Regions from separate parts of the Homo sapiens genome. Here region 2 is linked to region 1. Evidence: promoter capture Hi-C in 16 types of primary human blood cells and fetal thymus (Javierre and others, 2016). All regions are on one chromosome and are shown on one strand. Each heading gives the region's core, a stretch centred on a gene start or on the middle of the fragment in contact. The rest is flanking DNA. Distances are from core to core; before and after follow the strand shown.

The links. Contacts are between HindIII fragments. The CHiCAGO score rates a contact against its expected background, and 5 or more counts as called.
Region 2: a contact is called between a fragment that was not itself captured here and the fragment with the promoter of MDK in region 1, in 3 of 17 cell types (endothelial precursors, M0 macrophages and megakaryocytes). The highest score is 7.2, in endothelial precursors.

The regions. Positions count from the first base shown.
Region 1 is chr11:46,378,173-46,384,605 of GRCh38, reverse strand. It overlaps MDK (midkine), which reads right to left and starts at 2,937. Exons shown (of 5, transcript NM_002391.6): 1 at 2,848-2,937; 2 at 2,473-2,549; 3 at 2,145-2,312; 4 at 1,858-2,019; 5 at 805-1,137. The coding sequence starts at 2,548. The coding sequence ends at 1,112. It overlaps DGKZ (diacylglycerol kinase zeta), which reads right to left. Exons shown (of 31, transcript NM_001199267.2): 26 at 6,377-6,408; 27 at 6,106-6,149; 28 at 5,495-5,615; 29 at 5,370-5,403; 30 at 5,038-5,137; 31 at 4,055-4,775. The coding sequence ends at 4,659. CHRM4 (cholinergic receptor muscarinic 4) reads left to right here. Exons shown (of 2, transcript NM_000741.5): 2 at 1-817. RefSeq lists silencers at 1,953-2,247, 2,223-2,272, 2,693-2,802, 3,233-3,432, 3,863-4,072 and an enhancer at 3,572-4,206. The HindIII fragment of the contact is 6,060 bases long and covers 912-6,433 here.
Region 2 is chr11:46,621,080-46,627,512 of GRCh38, reverse strand. The region is part of intron 1 of ATG13 (autophagy related 13); the gene reads right to left. Among named protein-coding and RNA genes, the nearest start is that of ATG13, 6.7 kb to the right of the region's middle. The HindIII fragment of the contact is 1,408 bases long and covers 1,674-3,081 here.

The DNA of each region.
Region 1 (6,433 bases), core at 1,688-4,187:
TGGCTGCAGCTACTTAGCCAGGTTCTGGGTGGGTATGATGGAGGCCAGGTCCCCCCCGCCCCAGCAGCACTGCCCTTGTCACATTAAGATGGGGCAGCTGGGAGGTCAGAGGTTCTGTCTCAGGAACTGAGGTCTGGCCTTCTGCGATCCCAGGCTGAGCCGTGAGTGGTCCACGTATTCAGAAGACAGCCCCCTGCAGCCCCGGCCTTAGAAGGCTGTCCCAGGTCACACATCGAGTCAGGGTGAGGCTGTGGTGGATGGCATTCCCATCTGCCCTCTTCAAACCTCTCACCCCCTGGCTTCTGCAGGGTGGAGGCCTGGGTCACACAGGCAAGAGGAAAGGGGTCAACCTGGTGGCTCACTCGGGTTTCCATGACAGTGGGAAGGGGGGAGGTGGGCAGTGAGGTAGGCACGCAGCCCTCGCATCTGCTCTCCCCCATGGGTAGAACCTTCCTGATTGGCTGTGGGTTGTATCAAAAGACCTTTGACTGGGTGAGGCTGAGATGGGTGTGGTGGTTCCAGTGAGTCAGCCAGGTTCCCTTCCCCAGCCCTGGTCCCTGAGGGAGATGAGGACCGAAAGGCTTAGGTGACTTGATGGGGAGCACCCTTTCAGGGGCCCTGGAAGAAATGTTTGTAATTGTTCTGCTTTTTCCATGAGCTCTGGAGAGCACCCACCACCAAGCCCCCTGAAACCCACCAGTCCCTACAGCCTGGTCTTTCTCCCCACCTTCCCACTCCCAAACACATTTCCACAGCAAACTCCTTGGGAAGGGGCTTTTATATATTAAAAAAGAAGAGCTTTTATTGGGGGGAAAAAGTCAGTTTATTTGATGTGTTTCTTAGTAATGGAATTGTGGGGAAGAACAAAAGCGGGCTCTGGGACTCACATTGCTTTGGGGGAGGCTCAAGCTTCCCAGAATCCCTTGTCCCTCCCCACTTTGGGCACTTAGGGGTGGGGCTGGGGAGTGAGAGGGACAAGGCAGGGCATGATTGATTAAAGCTAACGAGCAGACAGAAGGCACTGGTGGGTCACATCTCGGGCCTGGGAGAGGGAGGGCGTGGGCCAGGCCCCATGTGACACCAGGGGCTCCTTGGCATCCAGGCTTGGCGTCTAGTCCTTTCCCTTCCCTTTCTTGGCTGTAAAACAAGAAAGAAATATTAATACCATATCAGCAGTTAGGCTGACCCATTGCAGACCGCCGGCTCCACAAACACCCGGGCATCAGGGAAGGAGAAGATTCTGCCCCCTAGTGGTTTCCAATCAGCTGACTCGGAAGCAGGGGATGGGGCAGCCATTGTGATGTGGACATGGGACATCCCCAGCTTCCTATTTCCACTTGGGATCAGAAAACCTTCAAGTTTCCAGTCCTAGTCCTGGTCACAGCAGCCCTGGGCATCCTCAGCCTCCTCACCTGAGAAGCGGGCAGATTCACCCCTGCCCTGCTGGCCTCGCTGGGCTGAGTCACGAGTGAGCTGAGAGGCCCAGGGTGGGCCTTGACCTCCTCCCAACACTAGAAAGGGCAGAGCTGACCAAATGCTGCCCGTGGCTGGAGAGCTGACAAAGGCAAGCCGTTCCAGGACACTCTCCCTGGGTCCTAAGCCAGATGCTCCAATGGAGTAGTTTGAGTTGGTCCCTATTTGGGCCAGGGAGGATTTATGTCCCCAGCATCACCTGCGGCCTCTCTTGTAGTGCCCATCTTCAGACTTTTCCAGGCAGGGAAGCCAAGTGAGGCGATGTCAGGAAGCCACTGGCCAGGACTCAAAACTTAAGGTTTAACTTGGAATTGTCCCCTCACAGGCGGGGGGGGGGGGGGGCAGCCCCCCGCGACAGCCCCACCCCCTTCTCCTTTCGCTGACCTTTGGCCTTTGCTTTGGTCTTGGGGGTGCAGGGCTTGGTGACGCGGATGGTCTCCTGGCACTGAGCATTGTAGCGCGCCTTCTTCAGGGTGCCTTGGCGGACTTTGGTGCCTGTGCCCCCATCACACGCACCCCAGTTCTCAAACTTGTACTTGCAGTCGGCTGGCGAGAGAGCGGCCCAGGTCAGCGCTGCGCGGCCCGCGGCCCCGCCCTCCGCCAAGGGTCCGCCCAGGCTTCGGCGAGGCTGTGCCCCCCGTCTCCTGCCCTCTGACTGCGCCCCGCCTCACCTCCAAACTCCTTCTTCCAGTTGCAGGGCACCCTGCACCGGATGCGCTGGGTCTGGGCCCCGCAGGTGCCCTCGCGGAAACCCACGCCGCAATCCTTGCTGCTGGGGGTGCAGGGCCCCCAGGCCCACTCAGCGCACTCGCTCCCCGGGCCGCCCTTCTTCACCTTATCTACAACGCGCGAGGAACAGAGTTCAGGACTGGGGCACGGGGAGACTCCCTCGGGAGCCGCCTTCCTGGGGTTCCAGGCTAGGAACCCAGGCGGCCCAGCCCAGAAGTGGAGGGGCCTCGCCTGCCCGTCCCCAGCCCTCCTTCGATCATCCCCCATCACCTTTCTTTTTGGCGACCGCGGAGGTGAGCGCCAGCAGGGCGAGGAGGGTGAGGAGGAGGAAGCCTCGGTGCTGCATCCTGAGGGGAGAGCCCGAGTCTGAATCCCTGGCCCGTCCCCTTCCCCACCGGGGGCCGCGTGCAGGGCCCTCCCACCTCCGCGTGCTCCACTTTCCAGGCCCCAAGTCGGGCTGCTAAGGTGGCGGCGGTGGGAAGACTTGGGGCGGCCCCTCGCCGCTAGCCCGGACGCACCGCTAAGAGGCGACTCCCCGGGGGACGCCTCGAGCCCAGGACGCAGCTCAGACCCCCACCCCCGCCTCCAGCCCCCAGCCCCTAGATCGGCCGCGGCCGGGCGGACCAGGGGCCGCCGCGCGCTCACTCGCTCGCTGCCCGCGCTGCTTCGCTCCCTCCCGCGCCGGGCCCGTCCCGCTCCGGCCGCCGCGGCCCCTTTTGTCTCCAGAACCGGTCTGAGCCGGTCACATGGGCCCCCGCCCCCTCTCCCCACCCCCCCAGGGAAGGACCCGCCCCGCCCCCTCCCCTCAAACCCGCACCGCCCCCGACCCCGGCGTCCCCGCCCCCGCTCCAGCCCGCGCCCCCCGCGCTTCTACTCCGGCGTCCGTGTTCCCGGCCCCGCGTCCTCGCGTCTCCCCGCCGGTGCCCTCTGCGCTGCGACGGCGGCCTCTCCCGGCCCCATCTTCCGAGCGGTGGTCTCCCGACCCCGGGCCCCGTCCCGCCCGCGCACACCGGCCCCCGGCCCACTCCCTGCGCCGCCGCCCGCTGCCCCCATCCCAGGTCGTCCCCTGCCGTACGCCAAGGCCCGGGCCGTTCTCAGGCCTCAGCTTCTCTTGCCTGCCGCGGAGCCCCGGCGCCTGTATAACCCGCGGGACCCGCTCCCCTCCACGGCCGGCTCAGCCCTGGCGCCCTGCTGGCTGCTGGGGAGGGGGCGCGGCCCACCTGGGGCGGTTTCCGCGGGTGGGCAGGGAAGCGCTCTGCTGTGCTGGGGGGAGTCTGGGACCCGGTCGCCCAGAGAAAGCCACGGGTGCGGTCGCCCAGTGCCTTTCCGGGAGCACAGGCTTGAGGGACTGCGAGTGGGGGTCCTGGGGGAGGAGCCCGCAGGCCTGGATTTGGTGAAACTTGGCGCTGACAGGAGCCGTCTGAGAAGTTCCAGATCCAGCCACATCGGCAGCTGCAAGTGCCCACCCCCTCTAACCCTGGGCCTGTGGCATTGCCTCGCCCGGTTCCCCCAAACCGGGAGAGCCCCCGAGGCCTGGGGGAGGGGCTTGCTCAAGGCCACAGGGCAAATGGGCCACAGAACCCGGGCTCGCCCCCGCCCCACCCCTCTTTCACTTTCATTGTTGTTCTCCGCGGGAAGCGGGAAGCCGGAGGGATCGGCCCCGCCCCCGGCCCCGACGAGCGCGGCCGCCGGGCAGAGGTCAGGAACCGGGCAGGCCCTGGGACCAACCACCAAACGGGAGCCGGGGCCCCAGGAAGGTGCTGTCGACAGCGTCCAGTCCCCCACCCCGAGGACAACCCCGCAGCCCCCGCTGCTTGTTAGACCTCCCCCGCAAAAGAAGAAAAGCAGAAAAGAAAAAAAAATCCACTTTACTGAGTCACACCCAGCTGTAAACATGTCACCGTGAGAGTCCCGCCCCCCACCCCCAGGCCGCACAGTCCGCGATGAAATGACAGGGGAGCGGGGAGGGTCGCCGGAGCGGGTGCCAAGCAAGGCAGGGCAGGCAAGTGCAGCAGGCGCTGAGTTTCCGGGAGGAAGCCCGGAGGAGGTGGGGTGGGGCAGGAGCGGGGGCTGGGGACCCGGCCGAAGACCAGGGGGCCCAGGAAGCCTCTTCCCGAAGGCCTCCCCCTCTCCAGCCCCTCCACTCCTGGGAGGGCATCTGCTGCGGCCAGGGAGCGCCCTGCCCCAGAACCCCGGCAAAGGCATATCCAACCCAGCCGTGTCTTGTTCCCTGTGAGCCTCCGGGTCCGGCGGGGTCCTCAGGGGAACAGGTGAGGCCCCCCCAGCTCCTGAGTCCAGCCCTAGGTCTGGGCGGCTCCTTAGGGGGCGGCATGGGGCTCTTTCCCTGGGGCCTAGGTCCCCCCGTGGCCGTCCCACTGGAATGTGGCAGTGAGGTGGGCAAGGAAGGCGCTCGTCCCCTGGCCGCATTGTCCCTCCTGCTGCCCGTGGGCGGCCCGCTACACAGCCGTCTCCTGGTCCTCCCGCTGGATCATCTGGTAGTGCTGCCGGTTCTCCAGGTAGGCGGCCAGCTCGGTGTCCTGAGCCTTCTCAGCCCGCTGCCGGGGAGTGTCGCCCTGGAGGAGGGCGGAGCTGCGATCAGCAGGGGCCAGAGGCAGGCCTAACCCCTAGCAGGCTGAGAGGCAGGGGCTCTACCTCCCTGTGGCCTGGTCAGGGAGGGAGGCCTCTCTGCCCACCAGCTCCTCCCCTGCTGGCTCAGGTTTCCCAGGGTCTGGACTGTGTCTTCCCAGGGACAGCCCCCAGCCCCAGCTCCCGCCTAGGACCTTGGGAAAGGTTTGGTTGGTGCCCTCGTGGGCTCCCTGCCTGCCGTCTGCTCACCTGCTGGTCTGTCTTCATGAGCGAGGCCCCGGCCTCCACGATGTAGTGGCAGATGGTGCGCTGGCCCAGGGCCGCTGCTTGGTGCAAACAGGTCTCCCCGCTGGGGGAGCAGGGGCTGGCTGTGTACCCCATCCCGTCCCCTGATCCACCCATCTGTCTCCCAAGGGCCATCAGAAAGGGCAGGAAGTTCAGGGCTCTGGGGCAATAGGGGTGGCCCAGGGGATGACAGATGTGACCAGGAAGTTTATGGGCTCTGACCTGACAAAATGGGAGGGGTGGGGAAAAGGGTGGTTTCCGGGGTGACCACGGTTCTGCACTGCCCAGATACTTACTTTTCCTCCACCGCATCAAGGATCTCTGGGGGGGCTGGAGAAGGGGAGGTGGTGGTCAGAGAGGCCTGGCAGCCCCTCCTCCTCCCACCTTGGCCCCAGGCCCTGGGCTCCACTGCCCGGCTCACCGTGGTCCAGCAGGTAGCGGACCACATCCTTGCTGCCAGTGCTGACTGCGTGGTGCAGGAGCGTGCGACTCTGCTCGTCTCGGTGCATGAGGTCGCCCCCAGCTCGGTGCAGCTCCTGGAGCTGAGGGCAGGAGGCATGGCAGGGCTGGACCTCCTGGGGCCACCCCTCCTTCCCTGAGCTCACACGCTGGCCCACAGCCGGGTACACCAGCACAGGCCTGAAACGAGTGCGCTCACACATCTTACTCCTGAGTTGCCTCTGTGGGTCTCTCTGGAGCACACCGGAGGAGGGGCCTCTCACCCCACAGCCTGTGGGCTCTCTGGCAGCACTGGTGACCAAGCCCTGGAGCAGTGCTTCCTCTGACCTGCTCCTTTCTAAGCACCAGGGACAGGTGGACTGAGCTAGGAAGCCCCTACTAGGAGCCATCTATTGTGGCCTAGACAGAGATACAGTGAAGTGGAATGGGACGATCACTGGAGATCCCACAGAGGGCCAGACGATGACAGATGACAGCACCTGAGCAGGTCAGCTCTTGGCCCAACCCAGAGGCCTCGCTCCCCAGGGCCCGAGGGAGCTGCTGGGGGAAGGAACTGGAGCCTGGAGCTAGTACCTTACAGAAGTCGTTCCTCTTGGCAGCCTCAATCAGCTCTTCACCTGCACGGAATACCTGCCTGTTACTCTGCAGTCGGAGGCCTGGGCTTGGGTTGGTGCCTCAGTGGACAGGACTGTGCCGGCCAGGCATGTGTGCCCAGGGCTCCGTTGGTGCGTGAAGCTCAAAGGCTGTGTTTGTGTAAGGCTGTGTCTGGGCCCTATCCCCACCCCACTGAGCCTCCTGCCCCCAACCAGGCAGAAAGGAGGGGCCCCAGAGGGAGAGGCCTCACCTTGAGGGGGTGCAGCATCCCCTTGCAGTGACCTGCAACAGAGCATGATGTGCTGTG
Region 2 (6,433 bases), core at 1,128-3,627, 240 kb before region 1:
GGCAACAAGAGCAAAACTTCTTCTCAAAAAAAGCTTTTAAACTCATGTTTATCATGCGAGAACATGTAGGTTTTGGAAGCATTAAAATTTAATTTATAATTTTACATTTCTCTGTATTTATTTATTTATTTTTTGAGACAGAGTCTTGCTCTGTCGCCCTGGATGGAGTGCAGTGGTGCAATCTCGGCTCACTGCAACCTCCGCCTCCCAAGTTCAAGTGATTCTTCTGCCTCAGCCTCCCAAGTAGCTGAAATTACAGGCACCTGCCATCATGCCCAGCTAATTTTCATATTTTTGTAGAGATAGGGTTTCATCATGTTGGCCAGACTGGACTCAAACTCCTGACCTCAGGTATCTGCCCACTGCGGCCTCCCACAGTGCTGGGATTACAGGCGTGAGCCATCACGCCCGGCCCGGGCTAATTATCTTATTTTTAGTAGAGATGAGGTTTTGCCATGTTGGCCAGGCTGGTCTCGAACTCCTGGCCTCAAGTGATCCATCCACCTCGGCTTTCCACAGTGCTGGGATTACAGGATTACCGCACCCGACCTTATTTCTTAAACTAACAGTGGAAGAGCAGATACAATCCTTTCCTGACATAGTCCTTTTTTTCTATAGCAAATGTTTACACCTTCCTCCTAACACTGTGGTTTCAAAGGGAGCTGTGCAATAAATGAAGATGGGGAAAATACTTCTTTATAGTATAATACAATAAATAAATGTAAGAATAGCAGACTTAGAAAATGACAATTTTGTAACCATTATAGGAATAACTGGTTCAAGCAAATCACCAAGGAATGCTAAAATTTCTGGGTGAAACTTTATTTACAAATGAGATATTTACACAATCTATGGGAACACAGGTTACTACTTATTAATTACAAAGAGAAACCTGGTGGATACAATCTTAACAAAGTCATCAAAGATAACATACTGATATTGGGGCTCAGAAATCAATACCCAGGCCGGGCGCAGTGGCTCACGCTTGTAATCCCAGCACTCTGGGAGGCGGAGGCGGACGGATCACCTGAGGTCAGGAGTTCGAGATCAGCCTGGCCAATATGGTGAAACCCTGTCTCTACTCAAAATAAGAAATTAGCCAGGCATGGTGGTGCGTGCCTGTAATCTCAGCAACTCGGGAGGATGAGGCAGGAGAATCATCTGAACCCAGGAGGTAGAGGCTGCAGTGAGCTGAGGTTGTGCCACTGCACTCCAGCCTGGGCACAAGAGTGAAACTCCCGTCTCAAAAAACAAAAGAGGCCAAGTGCGGTGGCTCACGCCTGTAATCCCAGTACTTTGGGAGGCCGAGGCGGGTGGATCACAAGGTCAGGAGATCAAGACCATCCTGGCTAACATGGTGAAACCCTGTCTCTACTAAAAACACAAAAAATTAGCTGGGCGTGGTGGTGGGCACCTGTAGTCCCAGCTACTTGGGAGGCTGAGGCAGGAGAATGGTGTGAACCTGGGAGACGGAGCTTGCAGTGAGCCAAGATCACATCACTGTACTCCAGCCTGGGCGACAGACTCCGTCTCAAAAACAAACAAACAAACGAAAGAAACAAAAGAAATCAATACCCCCAAATATGGCTATGCTAACCAAAGAAGCCTCAAGGTATCTCTGACACCTCACTCCATCCACACAAACCTTCTCTTCCAAAGCATACAGTAAAGCTTAAATTCCTTTATGCGCCTAAAATCCAGACCCACCTAAAGGAACAACTGTTCTTCTGTATGTTGTAACACCACAAATGTAACCACACCTAAATGGACCCTTTCACAAGATAATGTGCAGGTTAATCTCTGTTCCCTGATCCATTCATTCTCCCTAGTAATCCCCTCAGCGGAATTCCTCTTCTCCAGGTTTCCATAACCTGTTTTGCCAGAATGGTATATAACCTCTGAACCACCTGGGGGGATGGGCAATCACTCTGTGATAAATTTGTATGCCTTGGCCAGCCCAGTGACTCACGCCTATAATCTCAATACTTTAGGAGGCCGAGGCAGGAGGATAGCTTGAGCTCAGGAGTTCAAGATCAGGCTGGGTAACATTTATCTACAAAAATACAAAAAACTGGCTGGGTGTGGTGATGCTCACCTATAGTCCCAGCTACTCAGGAGGCTGATGTGGGAAGATCACTCGAACCCAGGAGGTATGGCTGCAGTGAGCTGTGATCATGTCATTGCACTCCAGCCTGGGTGACAAAGCAAAACCCTGTATCAAAAAAAAAAAAAAAAAAAAAAAAGAAAGAGCAAGCTATAGCAAAAGTACCTTAGGAAAAAAAAAATCTGTATGCCTTTTTTTCCAATTCATATGCCTTTTGTGAGTTGATTTTTCTTTTTTTTTTTTGGTAGCAACGCGATCTTGATATGTTGCCCAGGCTGGTCTGGAACTCCTGGCTTCAAGTGATCCTCCCATCTTGGCCTCCTAAAGTGTTGGGATTAGGATTACAGGTGTGAGCCACTGAACCTGGCCTTGTGAATGAGTTGATTATCTTTTGGAGACAAGGTCTCTGTTGCTCAGGCTGGAGTGCCATGATGATCATGGCTCACTGCAGCCTGGACCTCCCAGGCTCAAGCAATCCTCCCACCTCAGCTGGGACTACAGGTGCACACCACCATGCCCAGGTAATTTTTTATTTTTTTGTAAAGACAGCATCTCACTATGTTGCTCAGGCTGGTCTCAAACTCTTGCGCTCAGGCAATCCTCTCACCTCAGCCTCCCAAAGTGCTATGATTATTACAGCATGAGCAATCATGCCCAGCCAATGAGCTAATGAGCTGATTTTTTCAAGGGTGAGGGGGAACTTTCACCTTGGCCTGGACAACAATTGAAGAAACTGACTTCACATCCCTTCTGATGTGATGTATTACTTACATAGCTTTCTTGCTAAAACTGTATAACCTGAAACTAACCATGAGGAAGTGATTGGACAAGCTCAAATTGAAAGGCTGAAAATTTAATAATATAATGGGCTCGTCACTCTTCAAAAACGTCAGTGTTATAAAAGAACAAAAAAAAAAAAATCTGAAGATCCATTTTAGATTAAAGGAGAATAAAGTGTGACAACTAAATGCAAAGCTTGATGCTGGACCAGTTCCTGGATTTCTTAAAAAGTTTCTGTGAAGGACAGTACTGAAACAACTGGCAACATTTGAACCCAACTGTATACTAGGTAACAGTATTGCATCAATATTAAATTTCCTGAATTTGGCTGGTTGTGGTGGCTCACCTTTGTAATCCCAGCACTTTGGCAGGCTGAGGAGTGTAAACACTTGAGGTCAAGAGTTCGAGACCAGCCTGGCCAACATGGCGAAACCCTTTCTCTAGTAAAATACAAAAATGAGCCAGGTGTGGTGACGCATGCCTGTAGTCCCAGCTACTCAGGAGGCTGAGGCAGGAGAATCGTTTGAACCCAGGAGGTGGAGGTTGCAGGGAGCCGAGATTGCGCCACTGTACTCCAGCCTGGGTGACAGCGAGACTCCATCTCAAAAAAAAAAAAAATTCCTGAATTTGATAAAATTACATTTTGGTCCACATTCTTATTCATGAGATATAAGTAACATCTCTGAAGGGTTCAGAAAAAAAAAAAAGAATAAGAATGTGTAAATATAATGCAAAAATAATAGTTATACAATATATAGGAGAAAGAAAGTAATGTGGTAAAGAGTGAACAATGTGCAAATCTAAGGGAAGAGTACATAAAAATTCACTGTAATATTCTTCCAACTTTTCTGTAGATTTGAATTAAAAAAAATCAAATTAACAAATAAAAAAACTAGTTGCCAGCCAGGCACGGTGGCTCAGGCCTGTAATCCCAGCACTTTGGGAGGCCAAGGCGGGCAGATCATCTGAGGTCAGGAGTTCGAGACCAGCCTGGCCAACATGGTGAAACCCCATTTCTACTAAAAATACAAAAATTAGCCGGGTGTGGTGGTGCACACCTGTAATCCCAGCTACTTGGGAGGCTGAGGCAGGAGAACTGCTTGAACCCGGGAGGCAGAGGTTGCAGTGAGCCAAGACTGCGCCACTGCACTCCAGCATAGGTGACAGAGTGAGACTCTGTCTCAAAAAAACAAAAACAAAAACAAAAAAACAAAACTAGTTGCCATCATATGGTCCATAATAGAGTGGAGAAAAACTTTCACCCAGCATAAATGTCTTCTAAAATTAGGTCTCTTTCTTTATGGACGTACTTCAAATGCACTTTTTCTTTTCTTTGAGACGGGGTCTTGCTCTGTTGCCCAGACTGGAGTGCAGTGGCACAATCTCGGCTCACTGCAAACTCCACCTCCCAGGTTCGTGCCATTCTCCTGCCTCAGCCTCCAGAATAGCTGGGACCCCAGGTGCCCGCCACCACACACGGCTAATTTTTTTTTTTTGTATTTTTAGTAGAGACAGGGTTTCACCGTGTTAGCCCGGATGGTCTCCCGACCTCGTGATCCGCCCGCCTTGGCCTCCCAAAGTGCTGGGATTACAGGCATGAGCCACGGCACCCGGCCCAAATACACTTTTTCAAACAGCTAGAATGATGACTCTAGCTGTACTTCCAAGATTTCATCACAGCATATCCTTGCCTTAGAATGAAGGTGGCACTTGAACCACGGCCAGTCCACTACAGCCAAATCTAAAAGAAATATATACATACAGTGTATATAAACAAAATTGCACCCCGAAGATGACAGAGTTTTGTCACAGCTTGTGAATTCTGTTCAACAAGTGTTGGAATCTAATCTGCTTTGCCCCTAAAATAGCATTTACAAGTTTTGGATATGAAAAACAGAAGAGAGAAAAATACACATTATAAAAGCAGAACATACGTGTATCAGTTTTTGGATACTAAATGACAGCCTTGTTTCTCCCCTTTGATTCAGCAGACACCATGGATTATATTTTTTTCCCTTCAGTAGTCAGCAGTTTGAATGTACAGAGAAAATGGACTTACAAAAACTTTCCGCAGTAGTTTGTTCTTGCTTTAAAATTTTGTTTTTGGTTTAGATGATGAATGCATGAAGTAAGGGAGTGAATCAGTTTCTTGTTTATATTTTTTTCACTTTTAAACAACAAAAAATTATTTAAAATATTTTAATGCATTCTTGGCCAGGTGCGGTGGCTCACGCCTGTAATCCCAGCACTTTGGGAGACCGAGGCAGGCGGATCACGAGGTCAGGAGATCGAGACCATCTTGGCTAACATGGTGAAACCCCGTCTCTACTAAAAATATAAAAAATTAGCCAGGCATGGTAGTGGGCGCCTGTAGTCCCAGCTAGACGGGAGGCTGAGGCGGGAGAATCGCTTGAACCTGGGAGGTGGAGGTTGCAGTGAGCCAAGATTGCTTCACCGCACTCCAGTCTGGGAAACAGGGCAAATACCATCTCTAAAATAAATATATATATATATATATATATATATATATATATATATATATATATATATATGTAAATAAATAAATCTCTGAAGTGGCCTTTCATCAACAGGGTGGACTGAACTGATGCTGTCAGTTCCCCCTCCCACTACAAACACATAAAGATGTAGATAAAATGACAATAAAAATGTTCGGACACACAGCTGAACTAGAAAAATGGTAGATATTCCAGATTCCATAAAGAGTACAATCAAAGCTATAGATGTAAGGAAAATCTGATGCCAGGGAACCGAGGCCTGTGAGGGACAAGGGTTAGGTCCTTTTGACAAACACATGAGAGTAAGAATAGGGTTGGGAGATATGACCTTAACCTTATAGGTAGGTAAAAGCCCTGTACCCTGCATAAAGCCCAACAGCCAAGTGCTCCTTTCCTTGATCACAGATGCTCAAAGAAGCCTGGAGAAGCCACAAAGAGGTTTGCCATCTATCATGGCAATGTTGAGAGGTGGGCAAGTTGCTCCCAAAATATTAAAAGCACAAGTCAGAAGAGCACATAAATGTAAGATCCATAATCAAACTACCTACATGCATAAGGAAATGAAAACCCAAGAAATTAACCTAAAAATTAGTGTAGAAACACTGAAACCCCAAGAAACAGGTAGAAACAAGACTGAATAGTATTGGGAGAAGCTTTCACAGTTCTGAATCCACAGCCTGCTGCCAGTACACACCGATAACTCTTCCCCCTAACTCTGAAGTAGACAAATTCATCATTTTATAAACTACAGACTTCATGTAAAAAGAAAGTATCAACAACTCAAAATAATAAACAAATATGGCTGGGCGCGGTGGCTCACATCTGTAATTCCAGCACTTTGGGAGGCCAAGGTGGGTGTATCACGAGGTCAGGAGTTGGAGACCAGCCTGACCAACATGGAGAAATCCAGTCTCTGCTAAAAATACAAAAATTAGCCGGGCGTGGTGGCACGCACCTGTAATCCCAGTTACTCAGGAGGCTGAGGCAGGAGAATCGCTTGAACCTGGGAGGCAGAGGTTGCAGCGAGCCAAGA